Regions from separate parts of the Homo sapiens genome. Here all the other regions are linked to region 1. Evidence: promoter capture Hi-C in human tissues and cell types (Jung and others, 2019). All regions are on one chromosome and are shown on one strand. The core of a region is centred on a gene start or on the middle of the fragment in contact, and the rest is flanking DNA. Distances in the headings are between cores, read along the strand shown.

Region 1 (2,848 bases), core at 156-2,655:
ATCCTTTCGCTAGACACAAAAGTTCTCCAAGTCCCCACCTGATTAGCTAGACATAGAGTGCTGCACCCTTGCTTGTCCTCCTAGACCATGAGGAGGACCGAGAAAAATCGGATTTAGTGGCCCTTACCGACGCATTCTCGAAAACCTGTTAGAGTCCTAAGCATTCTCCTGTTAGTATTGGGAACTTACCCGTGTCCTATAAAGATGTTATGCCCCAAAAATGAAGAAGAGTAACCTGAGGGAGGGAAGGGGTCTCCAGGGTTGGAAAAGTGACACCTTTTGTCCTCACTTATATGAATAGGAAGGATACAATTTCTGAGGCTCCCCCTATCCTAGCTTCAGGAATAGCTTTTGTTAGACCTGCTTATCTGAGGAGGGATTCTAAAATTCCAGATAGTTCCCCCTACAACTGGGCTTTGGGCAAAAATTATGTCTTTCTGATTGGTGAGCCCAGGTGCCTAAAGAAGGTAACAGAGTCCTGAAATTTTTACTAGAAATCATTCTTATAAGAGAAATTAGAAAAGCACCAGAGACAGGGAGTGGTTTTTTAGAAGTGGGACTAGCCTAGGAGAAGAGAGGAGAGAGAAAGTTTGTCTGGCAGGCATTAGGACCCAGCGAGCAAGGGTCAGGATAGATAGGATAGATAGGTGAGTCTCACTTGGGCAACATGCCTTTGAGAGTTCCGCTCATGGCCGCAGGGTCAACCAACTTGTTGTGGGGACTCCGGAGCTGAATGGCTTTCCTCTCTGTTGACCCTCAGCTCAGCCCAGAAGTACAGGAAAAGCGGAAGCTGGTTCCAGGCAAAACAACATTCCCAACTCCACAGAGCCAGGGGTTGTTAGAGATCCCTTTCCCAGAAAGCCTGACACCCACGTTTTTAGTCCAGCGGCTGCGCTAGTCACTTTTAACTGGCCGACAGGTGCCCAGAATTTAGCCACCGAATTCTAAGGAAAAATAGGACAGAATAGCAAATGAAAGGGATCTGATGGTACTCACCACTTGGCGATAGGTGATAGTCTCACCGCTTGGTGATGGTCTCACCACTTGGCAATAGTCTCACTGCTTGGCAATAGTCTCACCACTTGGTGATAGGTGACAGTCTCTTCAAAGTCACCAAAATGTGTACGGAATTGATGGGTTCTTGGCCTCACTGACTTCAAGAATGAAGTTGCAGACCCTTGCGGTGAGTATTACGGTTCTTAAAGATGGTGTGTCCAGAGTTGTTCATTCCTCTCGGTGCATTCGTGGTCTTGCTGGCCCCAGGAGTGAAGTTGCAGACCTTCGCGGTGAGTGTTACAGCTCTTAAAGGTGGCACGGACCCAACGAGTGAGCAGCAGCAAGATTTATCATGAAGACCAAAAGAACAAAGCTTCCACAGCGTGGAAGGGAACCAGAGCAGGTTGCTGCTGCCGGCTCAGGCAGCCTGCTTTTATTCCCTTAACTGGCCACACCCACATCCTGCTGATTGGTCCATTTTATGGAGAGCTGATTGGTCCATTTTACAGAGAGCTGATTGGTCTGTTTTACAGAGAGCTGATTGGTCCGTTTTGACAGAGTGCTGATTGGTGCATTTACAAACCTTTAGCTAGACACAGAGTGCTGATTGGTGCATTTACAATCCTTTAGCTAGACACAAAAGTTCTCCAAGTCCCCACCAGATTGGCTAGACACAGATTGCTGATTGGTGCATTTACAAACCTTTAGCTAGACACAGAGTGCTGATGGGTGCATTTACAAACCTTTAGCTAGACAGAAAAGTTCTCCAGGTCCCCACCGGACCCAGAAGCCCAGCCGGCTTCACCTCTCAATGGCACACACTGCAGGACTTTGCGGCACCTAGCCCAGGCACTCCAGCAGCCCAGAGGGAGCTCATCCCCCAGTCAGGCCCAGCTGGCACCGGCCGGCCCACGGAGCCCCTGCTGGCCGGTGAGTGCCCTGTACAGTGTGGGCTCCTGCCGGCGCCTCTCCCTCCACACCTCCTGGCGAGCAGAGGGAGCTGGCTTCGGCCTTGGCCAGCCCCAGAGAGGGGCCCCCACAGTGCAGTGGTGGGCTGAAGGGCTCCTCAAGTGCAGCCAGAGTGGATGTGGAGGACGAGGAGGCACCAAGAGTGAGCAAGGGCTGCTAGCATATTGTCACCTCTCACTTCTAGTTGAAAAAGCAAAATCAACAGAAACTCTCATTCACTGCTGGGTAGAGGGTAAGTACAATCACTTTGGGAAATGATTTGGCATTATACGGAGAAGTTGAAAATAAAGATCTCTGACTCTGTAGAGGGAACTTGCATCCTGCAGACAGGAGGTCATGTGTGCACCAAGAGACTGTACACACAGGTTCAGAGAAGCCTGCTTAGAATGTTCCAAACTGGAAACAAGTCTGTATTAGTTTGTTTTCACACTGCTATAAAGAACTAACTGAGGCCAGGCACGGTAGCTCACACCTGTAATCCCAGTACTTTGGAAGGCCAAGGTGGGCAGATCCCTTGAGCTCAGGAGTTTGAGACCAGCCTGGGCAACAAGGTGAAACCATGTCTCTATAAAAATTAGCTGGGTGTGGTGGTGCATGCCTGTAGTCACAGCTACTCGGGAGACTAAGATGGGACGATTGCTTGAGCCCAGGAGGTCAAGGCTGTGGTAGGCTGAGATTGCACCACCGTACTCCAGCCTGGGAGAGAGAGCAAGACCCTGTCTCAAAAAAAAAAAGAACTACCTGAGACTGGGTAATTTATAAAGAAAAGAGGTTTAATTGACTCACAATTCCACAGGCTGTACAGGAAGCATGGCTGGGAAGGCCTCAGGAAACTTACAATTAAGGCAGAAGGTGAAATGAAGCAGGCAGAACTTACACAGCT
Region 2 (3,023 bases), core at 17-2,516, 370 kb before region 1:
CCAGCAGTTCCAGAAAGACAGTGACCAGCAAAAACAGGCCATGGTGACAATGACAGTTTTGTCAAAAAGAAAAGGGGGATATGTAGGGAAAAGAAAGAGAGATCAGACTGTTACCGTGTCTATGTAGAAAGGGAAGACATAAGAGACTACATTTTGAAAAAGACCTGTACTTTAAATAATTGCTTTTCTGAGATGTTGTTAATTTTTAGCTTTGCCCCAGCCACTTTGACCCAACCACTTTGACCCAACCTGGAGCTCACAAGAACATGTGTTGTATGAAATCAAGGTTTAAGGGATCTAGGACTGTGTAGGACGTGCCTTGTTAACAAAATGTTTACAAGCAGTATACTTGGTAAAAGTCATCGCCATTCTCTAGTCTCAATAAACCAGGGGCACAGTGCACTGCAGAAAGCCGCAGGGACCTCTGCCCTTGAAAGCAGGGTATTGTCCAAGGTTTCTCCCCATGTGATAGTCTGAAATATGGCCTCCTGGGATGAGAAAGACCTGACTGTCCCCCAGCCCGACACCCATAAAGGGTCTGTGCTGCGGTGGGTTAGTAAAAAAGGAAGGCCTCTTGCAGTTGAGATAGAGGAAGGCCACTGTCTCCTGCCTGCTCCTGGGAACTAAAAGTCTCGGTATAAATCCCGATTGTACATTTGTTCAGTTCTGAGATGAGAGAAAAACCGCCCTATGGTGGGAGGCGAGACATGTTTGCAGCAATGCTGCCTCGTTATTCTTTACTCCACCGAGATGTTTGGGTGGAGAGAAACATAAATCTGGCTTACGTGCATGTCCAGTCATAGTACCTTCCCTTGAACTGAATTATTAGATTCTATTGCTCACGTTTGTTGCTGACCTTCTCCTTATTATCACCCTGCCCTCCTACTACATTCCTTTTTACTGAAATAATGACGATAATAATCAATAAAAACTGAGGGAACTCAGAGACCGGTGCCGGTGCAAGTCCTTGGTATGCTGAGCGCCGGTCCCCTGGGCTCACTGTTGTTTCTCTATACTTTGTCTCTGTGTCTTATTTCTCTTTCTCAGTCTCTCGTCCCACCTGACTAGAAATACCCACAGGTGTGGAGGGGCAAGCCACCCCTTCAAACAGTAGCAACCTGCTTGGGTCCCCTTCCACACTGTGGAAGCTTTGTTCTTTCGCTCTTTGCAATAAATCTTGCTGCCCCTCACTCTTTGGGTCCACACGGCCTTTATGAGCTGTAACACTCATCGTGAAGGTCTGCAGCTTCACTCCTGAGGCCAGTGAGGCCACGAACCCAGTGGGAGGAATGAACAACTCCGGATGGGAGGAACGAACAACTCCAGACATGCCGCCTTAAGAGCTGTAACACTCACTGTGAAGGTCCGCAGCTTCACTCCTGAAGCCAGCGAGACCACGAACCCACCAGAAGGAAAAAACTCTGAACGTGTCTGAACATCAGAAGGAACAAACTCCGGACACGCTGCCTTTAAGGACTGTAACACTCACTGCGAGGGTCCGTGGCTTCATTCTTGAAGTCAGTGAGACCAAGAACCCACCAATTCCAGACACACCTTCATTTTGAGCCTATGTGTGTCTTTGCACGTGAGATTGGGTCTCCTGAATACAGCACACCATATGGGTCTTGATTCTTTATCCAATTTGCCAGTCAGTGTCTTTTAATTGGGGCATTTATCCCATTTACATTGAAGGTTAGTATTGTTATATGTGAATTTGATCCTGTCATGACGTTAGCTGGTTATTTTGCCCATTAATTGATGCAGTTTCTTCATAGCATCAATGGTCTTTACAATTTCGTATGTTTTTGCAGTGGCTGGTACTGGTTGTTCCTTTCCATGTTTAGTGCTTCCTTCAGGAGCTCTTATTGTAAGGCAGGCCTGGTGGTGACAAACTCTCTCAGCATCTGCTTGTCTGTAAAGGATTTTATTTCTCCTTCACTTACGAAGCTTAGTTTGGCTGGATATGAAATTCTAGTTCCAAAAATCTTTTCTTTCAGAATGTTGAATATTGGTCCCGACTCTCTTCTGGTTTGTATGGTTTCTGCTGAGAGATCTGCTGTTAGTCTGATGGGCTTCCCTTTGTTGGTAACCCAACCTTTCTCTCTGGCTGCCCTTAACCTTGCTGAATCTGACAATTATGTGTCTTGGGGTTGCTCTTCTCAAGGAGTGTCTTTGTGATGTTCTCTGTATTTCCTGAATTTGAATGTTTCTTTTTTCTTTTCTTGTCTCTAATCTTGTGTTCTCACTTTATTTCATTAATTTTATATTCAATCACTGATATCCTTTCTTCCACTTGATTGAATCAGCTATTGAAGCTTGTGTATCCTTCATGAAGTTCTTGTACTGTGGTTATCAGCTCCATCAGGTCATTTAAGCTCTTCTCTAGATTCTTCATTCTAGTTAGCCATTCGTTTAACATTTTGTCAAGGTTTTTAGCTTCCTTGCAATGGGTTAGAACATGCTCCTTTAGCTGGGTGTAGTTTGTTATTACTGACCTTCTGAAGCTTACGTCTGTCAAGTCATCAAACTTATTCTCCATCCAGTTTTGTTCCCTTGCTGGTGAGGACTTGTATTCCTTTGGAAGAGAAGAGACGTTCTGATTTCTGGAAGTTTCAGCCTTTTTGCTCTGGTTTCTCTCCATCTTTGTGGTTTTATCTACCTTTGGTCTTTGATGTTGGTGACCTATGGATGGGGTTTTAGTGTGGATGTCCTTTCCTGTTCTGATGTTGATGCTGTCCTTTGCTGATGTTGATGCTATTCCTTTCTGTTTGTTAGTTTTCCTTCTAACAGGCCCCTCAGCTGCAGGTCTTTGGGGGTTTGCTGGAAGTCCATTCCAGACCTTATTTTCTTGGGTATCAGTAGAGGAGGCTGCAGAACAGCAAATATTGCTGCCTGATCCTTCTTCTGGAAGCTTTGTTCCACAGGGGCACCCACCTGTATGAGGTGTCTCTCTGCCCCTACTGGGCGGTGTTTTTCAGTCAAGCTACATGGGGGTCAGGGACCCACTTGGGGAGGCAGTCTGT
Region 3 (3,026 bases), core at 441-2,940, 400 kb before region 1:
GGGGCGTGGTGGCTCACGCCGGGAATCATGGCACTTTGGGAGGTCACGGTGGGAGGACCACTTGAACTGAGCAGTTTGAGAGAAGCCTGGGCAACATAGGGAGACCTTATCCCTATATTTAAAAAAACAACAACAATGACAACAACAACAACAACAAATCTTCCTTCTTAGGAACTATCGTCAAAATAACTTCTATTTCTTAAAACATCTTTTTTGAAAACTACCCTAAGATCTGCTGCTAACCATTTAAGGTTGGCTTCTTTCTTTTTTTAGATGGAGTCTTCCTCTGTCACCCAGGCTGGAGTTCAGTGGCATGATCCCAGCTCACTGCAGCCTTGACCTACTGGGTTCAAGCCATCCTCCTGCCTCAGCCCCCCAAGTAGCTGAGAATACAGGTGCGTGCCATCACACCTGGGCAATTTTTGTACTTTTTGTAGAGACAGGGTCTTGCCATGTTGCCCAGGCTGGTCTGGAACTCCTGAGCTAAAGCCATCCGCCTGCCTCGGCCTCTCAAAGTGTTACAGGTGTGAGCCACCAGGAAGTTGGCCTTATTTCTTTTGCAGTGTTTTCTTCCCACCTCCTATTCTTCTAAGGCTGTCTCTGACCCTATGCTCTTTTCTTTACATTTTCCCATTTGGGAGCTCCTTCATTCTCGTGATTTCAAATCTCACCCCAAAATCTATTTCCAGACCCCTCCTCTTCCTTTCACACTGAGTTCCACCCACATTTCTCCAAGTGCTTACTGTCCAGTTCTTCTTGAATAAGTTACCATTATTTCAAAGTCAATCTGGCCACACTTACCTGAATGGAAAAACTGGCTTAAATAGAGCTGTAGAAAGTTACCCTGGAGGGGCCTTTGAGATCATCTATTCCAATGTCCTTAAGGTGGAGATGATGAAACAGGTTCAGGGAATTTTCTCAAGATCATATAGTTCAGTAGTAACACACTGGGGCTAGCTAAGAACAGGAGGCCTGCTTATTCCGTGTTGGGGAAAGTGATTTGTTCAGGGCATAAAGCTAGTTAGTGGTGGAAGAACTGAGGTCAGTCTCCCACTTTGTAGCACAGAGCTAATTCGTAAGAGCCCTCTGAAAGTGAGCTGGGGTCATTAGGAAACCGGCTGCCCAGGAGAGCCATGATGGGAGAAGATACCAGCCTGAATTTAAAGCAATTCCATATTTGGTTATGATGTCATTTTCCCTGTCTCTGTCTCTCTCTTTTGACCTGGAGGCATGAAAGATTCAAGGCAGAAAGGGAAATTTAAACTGAGAAAGCCAAGAAAGGCAACATCTCACCTCCTTAATAAGTTATAAGTAGGTAGTGAGGCATGTGCTAGAGTAATGAATGGCCAAGCAGAATCTGCCAACAAGGGTTTTCAGTACAAAGCCACCCTGAAACCAGACTTTGCATTTGCCTGGAACTGGCAATTTTGATGCCTTGGGCAAGTAGCAGTACATGGGCCCTTGGTCAATTTTGTGCTCCGGATTTGGCCCACGGAGGGGTGTTATTAACAATGTACACCATCTGCTAGCTTCCCATTTTAACTAATTATTCTTGTTAACTAGGTGCTAACCTTCAACACAGTTGAAGAAATGCCTGGGCTGTCAACGTGTAAATCTAACAAAATTTAAAGTCAAGTACTCTTTTAAAACCAGTATGAATACTTTCTTGCACCCTTTAAATTTTGGTATCCTGGCACAAAGCCAAGTCACCTGCCTTGGCTCTGTGTAAGTCTCACCAATGTACTTGTTACTAGGGAGGTGCAGAATAAGTTAATAAGTGATGTGTGCTGTGCTCAGTGCACGTGTGTTTGGGCTGGGAGAAGACAGTGGATTGCTCCAGAATCACCTGGAGACATTTTCTACTCTGCTGCATACCCCATGCCCCTCTACTTCCAGGTCTGTCAGCACAGAGATGGGAGGAGGCTGGGTTTTGAATGAACAGAGACAGCAAACCATAAAAGATGAATGAGGCTGGGTGTGGTGGCTCACACCTATAATCCTAGCACTTTGGTACGGCCAGTAGGGAGGACCGCTTGAGGCCAGGAGTTCAAAACCAGCCTGGGCAATAAAGCCCCAACTCTACAACAAATTTAAAAGATGAACTGGCGTGGTGGTGCATGCCTATAATCTTAGCCACTTGGGAGGCTGACGGGGGAGGACTGCTTGAGCTCAAGAGTTGGAGGTTACAGTGAGCTATGATCATGCCACTGCACTCCAGCCTGGGCAACAGAGTGAGGCCCTGTCTCTGGGGGGAAAAGAAAAAGATGTCTTCTAAGTGTTCTAAATTGTGTGATCACTACACTAAAGTGGTTAGGAGCTGTTTGTTCTGTGTTCTGATAGTTATACATTTTTAAGAAAAAATATAATCAAGCAGATAGGCAGCTACTCTGGTTTCCACTTACAACACCAGTGAGAAGCTTCGTGGTGTGCAGATGAGGAGGCCACTGGGTAGTATCCATTCTCAGGGCAGTGGCTTTTCTCATTGCAGGGTAACATGTGACAACTGGCAGAAGACATTTCAAATTGCTGACAAGTATTCTATCATTCTCCTCTCTGACAATGGTCATACAAACTACCTGAGAGTCATTTTTGACTTCTCTATTTCCCACTTTTTGACATGGGGTTGGAAAATCTTGGTTCGTTTCCACTGAATGTCTCTTGGGCACATCTATTCCAGTCCCACCGCCACTGCTCTAAACCTGGACGACAGCAACAGCTTCCTCACTGATGCCCTGGATTTGGTGTCTCCTCTGTATATCCTTCCTACCAGAGCCAGATTAGCTTTCCTAATAACCATCTTTCTCTTGCTCAAAACCTCACATGGCTTCTTATTTGCTACAAGAGTGTGTAAACATATCCTTTTAAGAGGCTATATCCTTTTAAGGTCCTTAACGTATCCTTTTAAGAAGCTATGGCCGGGCGCAGTGGCTCACGCCTGTAATCCCAGCACTTTGGGAGGCTGAGTGGGTGGATCACCTGAGGTCAGGAGTTCAAGACCAGCCTGGCCAACATGGTGAAACCCCGTC

What was found. Contacts are between HindIII fragments. The study calls those that stand out against the background at their distance.
Region 2: a fragment that was not itself captured here is called in contact with the fragment with the promoter of DHRS2 in region 1 in 4 of the 25 tissues and cell types used here (bladder, dorsolateral prefrontal cortex, lymphoblastoid cells and 1 more).
Region 3: a contact is called between a fragment that was not itself captured here and the fragment with the promoter of DHRS2 in region 1, in 3 of the 25 tissues and cell types used here (bladder, dorsolateral prefrontal cortex and liver).

The regions. Positions count from the first base shown.
Region 1 is chr14:23,634,921-23,637,768 of GRCh38, reverse strand. It overlaps DHRS2 (dehydrogenase/reductase 2), which reads right to left and starts at 1,405. Exons shown (of 9, transcript NM_005794.4): 1 at 997-1,405. The HindIII fragment of the contact is 10,677 bases long and covers 1-2,848 here.
Region 2 is chr14:24,007,779-24,010,801 of GRCh38, reverse strand. It overlaps the pseudogene DHRS4L1. Among named protein-coding and RNA genes, the nearest start is that of DHRS4L2, 20 kb to the right of the region's middle. The HindIII fragment of the contact is 5,422 bases long and covers 1-3,023 here.
Region 3 is chr14:24,039,576-24,042,601 of GRCh38, reverse strand. It overlaps the pseudogene DHRS4L1. Among named protein-coding and RNA genes, the nearest start is that of CARMIL3, 11 kb to the left of the region's middle. The HindIII fragment of the contact is 6,357 bases long and covers 1-3,026 here.